Linked DNA regions of Homo sapiens: regions 1 and 2 are each linked to region 3. Evidence: promoter capture Hi-C in human tissues and cell types (Jung and others, 2019). All regions are on one chromosome and are shown on one strand. The core of a region is centred on a gene start or on the middle of the fragment in contact, and the rest is flanking DNA. Distances in the headings are between cores, read along the strand shown. Region 1 has its middle 6.2 kb from the start of LENG8-AS1. Region 2 has its middle 5.6 kb from the start of MIR8061. Region 3 holds the start of DNAAF3 (dynein axonemal assembly factor 3).

Evidence for each region. Contacts are between HindIII fragments. The study calls those that stand out against the background at their distance.
Region 1: a contact is called between a fragment that was not itself captured here and the fragment with the promoter of DNAAF3 in region 3, in 1 of the 25 tissues and cell types used here (dorsolateral prefrontal cortex).
Region 2: a fragment that was not itself captured here is called in contact with the fragment with the promoter of DNAAF3 in region 3 in 1 of the 25 tissues and cell types used here (lymphoblastoid cells).

Annotation. Positions count from the first base shown.
Region 1 is chr19:54,441,067-54,444,601 of GRCh38, reverse strand. No RefSeq gene overlaps it. Among named protein-coding and RNA genes, the nearest start is that of LENG8-AS1, 6.2 kb to the left of the region's middle. The HindIII fragment of the contact is 7,065 bases long and covers 1-3,535 here.
Region 2 is chr19:54,649,226-54,652,679 of GRCh38, reverse strand. No RefSeq gene overlaps it. Among named protein-coding and RNA genes, the nearest start is that of MIR8061, 5.6 kb to the right of the region's middle. The HindIII fragment of the contact is 4,026 bases long and covers 1-3,454 here.
Region 3 is chr19:55,165,111-55,168,580 of GRCh38, reverse strand. DNAAF3 (dynein axonemal assembly factor 3) reads left to right here and starts at 1,968. Exons shown (of 12, transcript NM_001256715.2): 1 at 1,968-2,058; 2 at 2,164-2,252; 3 at 2,581-2,723; 4 at 3,118-3,211. The coding sequence starts at 2,168. DNAAF3-AS1 (DNAAF3 antisense RNA 1) reads right to left here. Exons shown (of 4, transcript XR_007067345.1): 4 at 1,677-2,762. It overlaps LOC124904795 (small nucleolar RNA U13), which reads right to left and starts at 1,410; the gene lies at 1,307-1,410. RefSeq lists a silencer at 2,357-2,588. The HindIII fragment of the contact is 9,836 bases long and covers 1-3,470 here.

The sequences.
Region 1 (3,535 bases), core at 951-3,450, 720 kb after region 3:
CTCCCGGGTTCAAGCAATTCTTCTGCCTCAGCCTCCCGAGTAGCTGGGACTACAGGCACGTGCCATCATGCTGGCTAATTTTTGTATTTTTAGTACAGACAGGGTTTCACCATATTGGCCAGGCTGGTCTCAAATTCCTGCCCGTCTTGGCCTCCCAAAGTGCTGGGATTACAGGTGTAAGCCACCATGCCTGGCCCCTTTTCCTATTTTTTAATCAGATTGTTTTCCTGTTAACTGAGTTTTAAGAGCCCTTTGTAAATCTTGGATAGCAGTCCTTCATGAGATAGGTCTCTTGCAAATAGTTTCTCCCAGGCTGCAGCTTTTCTCATTATATTAAAAATGTTTTTCAAAGAGCAGAGGGTTTTGTTTTGTTTTGTTTTTTGAGATGGAGTCTCGCTCTGTCGCCCAGTCTGGAGTGCAGTGGCGTGATCTTGGCTCACTGCAAGCTCCGCCTCCCGGGTTCACGCCATTCTCCTGCCTCAGCCTCCTGAGTAGCTGGGACTACAGGCACCTGCCACCACACCTGGCTAATTTTTTGTATTTTTAGTAGAGATGGGGCTTCACCGTGTTAGCCAGGATGGTCTCGATCTCCTGACCTCATGATCCGCCCGCTTCGGCCTCCCAAAGAGCTGGGATTACAGGCGTGAGCCACCACGCCTGGCCTAGCAGAGGGGTTTTTTTATTATTATTTTAATAAAGTCAAGCTTGTAAGTTTCTTTCATGGATCATGCCTTTGATGTATCAAAAAAATTATCACGGCTGGGCGTGGTGGCTCACAGCTGTCATCCCAGTATTTTGGGAAGCCGAGGTGAGTGGATCACTTGAGGCCAGGAGTTTGAGACCAGCCTGGCCAACGTGGCAAAACCCCATCTCTACTAAAAATACAAAAATTAGCCGGGCGTGGTGGCGCACACCTGTAATTCCAGCTACTCAGGAGGCTGAGGCATGAGAATCACTTGAACCCAGGAGGCAGAGGTTGCAGTGAGCCAAGATTCTGCCAGTGCACTCCAGCCTGGGCGACAGAGTGAGACTCTTGTCTCAAAAAAAAAAATTCACAAAACCCAGTCATGTAGGTTTTCTCCTATGTTATCTTCTAGGAGTTTTATAGATTTGCATTTAACATTCAGCTCTATGATCCATTTTGAGTTAATTTTTGTGAAGAGACTAAGGTCTGTGTATAGATTTGATTTATTTATTTTTGGCATGTTGATGTCCAGTTGTTCTAGCACCATTTGTGGAGAGAAGTTTGGAAGTTTGAGCATTTTTTATGATACCTTTTTTTTTTTTTTAGACGGAGTCTCACTGTCATGCAGGCTGGAGTGCAGTGGCACAGTCTCGACTCACTGCAGCCTACTCCTCCCAGGTTCAAGCAGTTCTACTGCCTCAGCCTCCCAAGTAGCTGGGATTACAGGCGTGCACCACCACACCCAGCTCCTTTTTGCATTTTTAGTAGAGACAGGGTTTCACTATATTGGCTAGGCTGGTCTCAAACTCCTGACCTCGGGATCTGCCTGCCTTGGCCTCCCAAAGTGCTGGGATTACAGGTGTGAGCCACCACGCCCAGCCTTATGATACTGTTCTATCTCTGCTCTGTGCCCACCACCACACCCAGCTAATTTTTGTATTTTTTGGTAGAGACGGGGTTTCACCATGTTGGCCAGGCTGGTCTCGAACTCCTGACCTCAGGTGATACGCCTGCCTCAGCCTCCCAAAATGCTGGGATTACAGGTGTGAGCCACTGCGCCTGGCCTTGTCTTCACTTTTGTTTTTTTGGTTTTTTTTTTGAGAGGGAGTCTTGCTCTGTCGCCCAGTCTGGAGTGCAGTGGCGCGATCTCGGCTCACTGCAAGCTCCGCCTCCCGGGTTCACGCCATTCTCCTGCCTCAGCCGCCCGAGTAGCTGGGAATACAGGCGTCCACCACCACGCCCGGCTAATTTTTTGTATTTTTAGTAGAGACGGGGTTTCACTGTGTTAGCCAGGATGGTCTCGATCTCCTGACCTTGTGATCCGCCCGCCTCTGCCTCCCAAAGTGCTGGGATTACAGGCGTGAGCCATCGTGCCCGGCCCACTTTTGAAAAACAGTTTCAGTGAGTATCGAATTCTAGGTTGACTACTTTTTTCTTTTGCTACTTTAAGAATTTTCTTACACTGCTTTCTCACATTGTTTCCAGTGAGAAATCTGGTGTCATCCTAATTTTTGTTCCTCTGTTTATAAAATCTTTTTGTTTTTCATCTGGCTGTTGTCAAGATTTTCTCTTTGTTACTGGTCTTAAGAAATTTGATTATGATGTATCTTGGTTTATCTTTGTGTTTCTTCTGCTTGGGGTGTGTTGAGTTTCTTGTATCTTTGGTTTTATAGTTTGTATCAAATTTGGGAAATTTGGGGTTATTATTTCTTTAAACACTCTCTCTGTTCCTTTCTTTCTCTCTCCTTATGGGCCTCCAGTTACACATATATTAAAATGTCCCACAGCTCACCAGTGTTCTTTTCATTAAAAAAAAATATATTCATTCCTTCTGGGGCAGGGCATGGTGGCTCATGCCTGTAATCCCAGCACTTTGGGAGGCCAAGGCAGTAGGATCACTTGAGCCCAGGAGTTTGAGACCACCCTGGGCAACATGGTGAGACCTCATCTCTACAGAAAATTTTTAAAGATTAGCCAAACATGGTGGTGTGCGCCTGTAGTCCCAGCTACTCGAGAGGCTAAAGTGGGAGGATCGCTTGAGCTGGAGAGGTTGAGGCTGCAGTGAGTCATGATCACGCCAGTGCACTCCAGCCTAGGTGACAGAGTGAGACCCTGTCTAAAAAGTAAAAAAAAAAAAATCATTTTTTTAAATGTTTCATTTGGACAGTTTCTAATGTTGTCTTCCAGATTTTTTTTTTTTTCCTGCAATGTCTAATCTGCTGTTCTAGGGCTGGGTGCAGTGGCTCGCACCTGTAATCCCAGCACTTTGGGAGGCCGAGGCTGGCAGATCATTTGAGGTCAGGAGTTTGAGACCAGCCTGGCCAACATGGTGAAAGCCCGTCTCTACTAAAAATACAAAAATTAGCTGGATGTGGTGGCAGGTGCCTGTAGTCTCAGCTACTTGGGAGGCTGAGGCATGAGAATTGCTTGAACCTGGGAGGTGGAAGTTGCAGTGAGCCTAGATCATGCCACTGCACTACAGCCTGGGCAACAGAGCAAGACTCTCCCCCAAAAAACAAAAATCTGCTGTTCCAGCCAGTACATTATTTATTTCAGACATTGTAATTTCTATCTGTTGATATCCAGTTTGAGTTTTTTTATATCTTCCGTATCTGTAAAGAACTTTTGGAACGTATGGAGTACAGTATAATAGTTGTTCTAATGTTCTTACCTACTAATTCTAACTCCTGGGTCCGTTTCAGTTGAATGATTTTTATCCTCATGATGTGCCCTATTTTCCTGCTTTTTGCATATTTGGTGACTTTGTTGTTGGATACTAGACAATATCAGTATTACCTTGTCGAGCACTCGTTACTTTTGTATGCCTATAAATATTCTTGAGCTTTGTTT
Region 2 (3,454 bases), core at 553-3,052, 520 kb after region 3:
GCTGGGGGGATTTACAGAAGACATTTGGAAACTGCAGGGGGATGCAACATTGTTAATGGAATCAGCTGGGATGGCTATAGCTGAGACTCAGCAAACAGCCAGGAGACTGGAGCTGGGTGTCTTGAAACAGAGAAGTGACAGCAGCTGGATCACTGGAAACAACCAGGTGACTGGAACTAGGTGTCTGGAAACAGCCAGGTGATTGCAGCTGGGTTTCTAGAAGTAGCTGCAATGCCACCTCTTTGAGGTGCTGGTCAGTTGTGGAAGGAATCACCTGGTTAATGAACTTTCTAGATGCTGACTAGAGAACTTTGGGCTCTACCTCTTATCTCCAGAACAGTTGACTGGTTTTGCAGACCAGGATGATTCCAAGGGGAAGCCCTCCAGATGGCTTCTTGAGGCTTTTCCAAGCATGACTTCCTCAGGCGCAGGGGGCAGTGGTCCCGGAGTCAGTGCCTGGCGAGGGCTGTGTACATGCTAGACTCAGCCATGGGCACCATGGACTCTGGGGACACAGCCTGGGCTGTCCTCCAAGTGAAGGCCTGGTGGTCCAGCTGAGCATATGTCACCTCCAGGGGTCCCCTGCAGCAGGGGTCTGAGGACAGAGACCCGCGGTGAGGTAGGGGAGATGAGGGTGAGGGTAGGGGGTCTAGAGGGTGGCCCATTGGAGGTGAGAAGAAAATATTTGCTCAATATTACTATAATCTGCACTTATTTATGGTTTAAAAAATCTTAATGAATTAGGAATAGAATGAAACATCATAAACATGTTAAAGGATGCCCAGCAACAAATCAATAGCAAATATTATATTTAATGATGAAGCTTAGATCAATTTCCACTAAAATATGAACAAAACGAGGCTTAATGGTCTTTCCACTTTTATTCCATTTTCTACTGAGGTGTCCTAACTGATGTAATAATATCAGTAAAAGTAAAAAACTAAAAATAAGATATATGAGGGCTAGAGAGATTTTTTCATTACTTGTAGGTAGTAAGATTCTCTAAATAGAAAATTCAAAGTCCATTAGGATTTATAAGAAAATAAAAACAAATCCATATCAATGACATTTCTATACAGCAGGGGTAGTAGTTAGAGAATCGAATGGCCCCAAACTCCTGGCCTCAAGCAATCCTCCCACCTTGGCTTCTCAAAGAGCTAGGACTAACAGTCGCCGTGGAGAGCAGTTTGAGGATATCTCAAATAACTAGGAATGGAACTACCATTTGACCCAGGAGTCCTATTACTGGGTATATATCCAGGGAAAATAAATCATTCTAGTCAAGAACACACACACTTGGATGATCATTGCAGCACTATTGACAATAGAAAAGACATGGAATCAACCTCGTTGCCCATCAACAGTGAACCAAATAAAGAAAATGTGGTCCATATACACCATGGAAGACTACACAGCCATAAAAAAGAATGAACTCATGTCCTTTGCAGCAACATGGATGCAGCTGGAGGCCATTATCTTACGTAAACTAATGTAGAAACTGAACACCAAATACCACATATTCTCACTTATAAGTGGGAGCTAAATATTAGGTACACATCTTCCCATAAAGATGGCAACAGTAGACGCTGGGGACCACTGAGGGTGGAGAGGAGGGGGATGGGGCTGAAAAACTACCTGTTGGGTACCATGCTCCCTACCTGGGTGAGGGGCTCAGTCTTACTCCAAACCTCAATGCCACACAATATTCCTTGGTAACAAACCTACACATGTACCCCCAATTCTAAAATAAAAATGGAAATAGAAAAAGCAGTGTATAGGCCGGGCGCGGTGGCTCACGCCTGTAATCCCAGCACTTTGGGAGGCCCAGGCGGGTGGATCACAAGGTCAGGAGATCAAAACCATCCTGGCTAACATGGTGAAACCCTGTCTCTACTAAAAATACAAAAAATTAGCCGGGCGCCTGTAATCCCAGCTACTTTGGAGGCTGAGGCAGGAGAATGGCGTGAACCTGGGAGGCAGAGCTTGCAGTGAGCTGAGATGGTGCCACTGCCCTCCAGCCTGGTGACAGAGTGAGACTCCGTCAAAAAAAAAAAAAAAAAAAGAAAAGAAAAAAGAAAAAGAAGTGTATAAAGGTGTGGGCAAATGAGAGGGATGAAGCACCCCAGGAAGCCACTGCCACTCCCAGGATGGGAGGTCAAGGGGTGGAGAGAGCCCTGTGTGGGAGATGGGAGGTGCCTTGCGGGAGCTGATGTCATGGGTAGAGGAGCACAGTTGCTGACAAACCACAGCCTGGCAGGGCATATGTGTGGGAATTGATTCCCCGGCCTCTCTCTCCTCTCACCCTCTGCTCTCCTGACAGTGCCTCCATGGTTGAACTCAATCAGACGCTAAAGGCAAGGAGACACTGATGATGCAATCCATAGAGTCAGCCTCCAGGGCACAGACAAGGTGGGAAAGGACAGAGGGTGTATTAGGAGTTCAGCACTTTGGGAGGCTGAGGTGGGAGGATTACGAGGTTAGGAGTTCGAGACCAGCCTGGCCAACACAGTGAAACCCTGTCTCTAAAAAAAATACAAAAAATTATCTGGGTGTGGTGGTGTATACCTGTAATCCCAGCTACTCAGGAGGCTGAGGCAGGAGAATCACTTGAACCTGGGAGGTGGAGGTTGCAGTGAGCCGAGATCGTGCCATTGCACTCCAGCCTAGGTGACAGAGTAAGACTCTGTCTCAAGAAAAAAAAAAAAAAAGGAGTGGCCTGTGGGGAAACAGCAGTGCCCTCAATGTGGGGACAAAGCATCAGGAGAGACTGGGACTGCACGTCTGAGCCAGGGAGGACAACAGAGCAAATCACAGGCAAAGAGAGAAGAAGCCCAGCTGGGCCAGAGTGCATGGAAATAAGAGAGGAGGGGACACACGTGAGCAGTGCTAAGAAGGCAGAACACATGGTTGGACCTGATTAATGTTGATTGTGGGGTGAAAGAGAGAGAGAAGTGATAATGGTTCTTAAAGCTCTGGCTTGGCTAACTTAGTGCACTTTTTATCTGTTAGCTCCTCTCTTTTGTGTGTTTTTACTACTCTTTCTCATTTTAAATTATAGTAAAAAAAAAAACAAATGAAATAAAATTTACCATATTTACTCTTTCTAACTCTACAGTGCAGTATTGTGAAGTGGTTTGACATTGCTATGCAACCATCGCCATCACCATCCCCAAAGTATTTTATCTTTCCAATTGAAGCTTTATATTCAGTAAACACCAACTCTCAGTTTCCAGGCCCCCAAGCCTCTGTTAACCGTGATTCTACTTCCTGAGTCTGTGAGTTTGACAGGTAGCTCATATAGATAGAATCTTAGCAATATTTGCAATATTTGTCCTTTATGAGACTGGCTTATTTCACTTAGCATAATATCTTCAAGGCTCTCCATATTATAGTGTATGTCAGTCACAATTTCATTTCTTTGAGAGACTGAACAGTATTTCCTAGTTTCTATAAC
Region 3 (3,470 bases), core at 719-3,218:
TAGCCGGGCGTCCTGGCGCCTGCCTGTAATCCCAGCTACTCGGGAGGCTGAGGCAGAAGAATGGCTTGAACCCGGGAGGCGGAGGTTGCGGTGAGCCGAGATCGCGCCATTGCACTCCAGCCTGGGCAACAAGAGTGAAACTCTCTCTCTCTCTCTCTCTCTCTCTCTCTCTCTATATATATATATATATATATGTATATATATGTATATTTGTATTTTATTTTGTATATATATACAAAATATTTGTATTTTATTTTGTGTATATATAAATATATATACATATATTTGTATTTTATTTTGTGTGTGTATATATATATATATACACAAAATAAAATACAAATACAAAAATTAGCTGGTGTGGTGGCAAATGCCTGTAGTCCCAGCTACCTGGGAGGCTGGGACAGGAGAATCGCTTGAACCCGGGAGGCGGAGGTTTCAGTGAGCCGAGATCGCGCCACTGCACTCCAGCCTGGGTGTCACAGCAAGACTCCATCTCAAAAAAAAAAAATGTCACTCTGGTTCCTTTGCTGAGAATTTGTTGGGAGAGTGGGAGAAATAGGGAGGAAAGGCATTAATTCTCCAGAGAGAAACCCAGGATCTGGGGCTCTTGCAGGCTTAGAGCTGGCCTGGAAGGGGCTGGTTAGCCAGCCTGATTCTGCAGGAATGTCTGAGGTCTCAACCTTCGTTTCCCCAGTAGGTATTGTCTTCCCAGTGCCCAGATCTGCCCTCAGGAGGCAGATCCGCTGCACCTCTGCCCGCTGCACGCTACATTCCCATTTCACAGAGCAGCAGACTGAGGCTCAGAAAGGGTGACTGGTCTAAGCTCATGTGTCTGGGCAAGGAGAGGAGGCAGAGAGCCAAGTCCCCTTGGGCGCTGAGCCCAGTGCTGGGTGCTGGGGTGATCTAGAGATGTGCCTCATTCAGACTTTGGTTTTTCTTTTTTTTTTTTTTGAGACAGAGTCTTGCTCTGTCGCCCAGGCTGGAGTTCAGAGGCGCGATCTCAGTTCACTGCAACCTCTGCCTCCCAGGTTCAACAGACTCTCCTGCCTCAGCCTCCGGAGTAGCTGGGATTACAGGTGCGTGCCACCACGCCCGGTTAATTTTTGTATTTTTTAAGGTCGAGGCGCGGTTTCACCATGTTGGCCAGACTGGTCTCCAACTTCTGACCTCAAGTTATCTGCCCACCTTGACCTCCCAAAGTGTTGGGATCACAGGCGTGGCCACAGCGCCCGGCCGACTTACCCTTATTTTAATGCAGTTGATTTAACTGTACGATTACAGAATTTACCTGTAATTTTTTTGTTCATGTCAGAAGAGTAATGTGCCGATGTCGTAACAAGGTTTGAGGGAGGCACATCTCACGCATGCGCGTGAACACCCAATCATCCCGCTTAGAAACTACAAAAGGATCTAGCTGTAAGTTTAAATTATGGCTTCGTGTAACAATAACCAGCTCACAAATCCCTGAATTTTTAATGACCTGCACATCAGTGTCCCACCTGTGGGCTGTTCTGTGTGGTAGAGCCCACGTTGTGCTGGGGCGGGGAGCGGGCTCAGAAGCCTGCCATCTAAAGTCTAGACACTTCACTTTATTTGAATTGATGAAAATTCCGTTACGTATGAGCAAAGGCATATGAAGAAAACAAAAAAACAAAAAACAAGAAATAAGATTAAGCTCCCTTCACTCTCAATTTTAATCAGCCCAGGCCTCCCCCATTCCAGAAATTTGGACCGACCCTGACTCCGCCCCAACCTGTTCTAGCACCGCCCCTTCCCCCGCCGGCGCCGTCGTCATGACAACCGCGTCCACACGCCCTCTTCTCCTAGGTGTGGGGGAAGGCTGGCCCTCAGTGCTCCCATTGGCCAAAAGTTTGTAGAGGGCGGGCCTCGCTCACTCTCATTGGTCAGTTGCTCGCTGTGGTCCCATCCCACATGCTTCCATTGCTTGATTCCTCGAAAAGGGCGGGGACTCTGGGCAGCGGTTGTGGAGTGCCGCGGGTCCACAGTGCTGCACTGAGCAGAGAGGAAGGGGCGTCCCGGGATATTTGGAGGATAAAGGTGTGGGCAAGGTATCATGTGGAGGCAAAGGGGCGAGAAGTGAGGGGCGGTGAGAGGGGAGCGGGGCGGGCAATGTGTGCGATTCCCAGAATGTCTTTTCCGCAGGGTGATGACCACACCTGCCGGCTCCGGCAGCGGCTTCGGCTCCGTGTCCTGGTGGGGCCTGTCCCCGGCGCTGGACCTGCAGGCTGAAAGTGAGTCCCAGCACGCAAGGTCTGATACACCGTCTGCCTTCCCAGCCTGAGCAGACGGCCTTTTAGAGCTCGTAGTCCCAGCGTCGGTGGCAAGGGGGGCGCTAACGTTCTCCAACGCTCCAGCGGCAGAGGGCGCGCTCCCAGGGGCAGCCCCGAGGTCCTGTCTGCGGACTGCGAATCCCAGAATACTCAGAGGAAACACCTCCCCTTAGAACCTAGGCCACGGGCGGAACGCCTACTGGGATTTGTAGTCCATTTTTTATAGGGGATGCTACGGTGGACGCTCTGCCAACCACCATGGTGCCCCAGCCAGCTGTCATCTTGCCAGGTCCTCCTGTGGACCCAGACTCCCAGGCCGATACAGTGCACAGCAACCCCGAGCTAGATGTGCTGCTTCTGGGCTCTGTGGATGGACGGCACCTGCTGCGGACCCTGTCCCGAGCGAAGTTCTGGCCTCGCAGGAGGTTCAACGTGAGCTGGGATGAAGATGAGAGCCCAGATTCCCGAGTCCTTGAGGGAGGAAGGGATTGAAATTCTAAAACCTCAGGTCCAGGAATGAAGGGGCTGGAGACTCCTAGATCTGAGGGAGGCAGAAGCTGGGAGCGAACCGATGCGTCTTGGGGGAAGGAAGGGGCTGGGGTTTGGAACTCCTGGGTTCTATAGTGGGGAAGAGCTCGAGGATGAGGTCTTCTGAGTAATGGAAGGGAAGAGAGCTCTGGGGACACAGACTTCTGTGTTTGAAGGAAGAGGCTGGTGTACAGAACTCGGGTGTGTGGAAGGAGAGAGCTGAGGGCCTGCTCTCCTGGGTCTCCTAGGACCCAGGCAAACAGGTCTCAGAATTATTCTGCCCTGTCCATCCTTCTAGTTCTTTGTGCTGGAGAATAATCTGGAAGCTGTGGCCCGACACATGCTGATCTTCAGCCTAGCCCTGGAGGAACCGGAGAAGATGGGGCTGCAAGGTCTGTTGCTAGGACCCAGGCATTCTGACCGCTGGTCTCCTCCCCCTCCCTAGAGGGATTCTGGCATTTCAATGGTACAATTAAAAAGTTTGGTTATTTTCCTGGGAGGCGGAGGTTACAGTGAGCCGAGATCGCGCCATTGCACTCCAGCCTAGGCAACAAGAGCGAAACTCCGGCCGGGCGCGGTGGCTCACGCCTGTTAATCCCAGCACTTTGGGAGGCCGAGGCAGGAGAATGGCGTGAACCCGGCAGGCGGAGC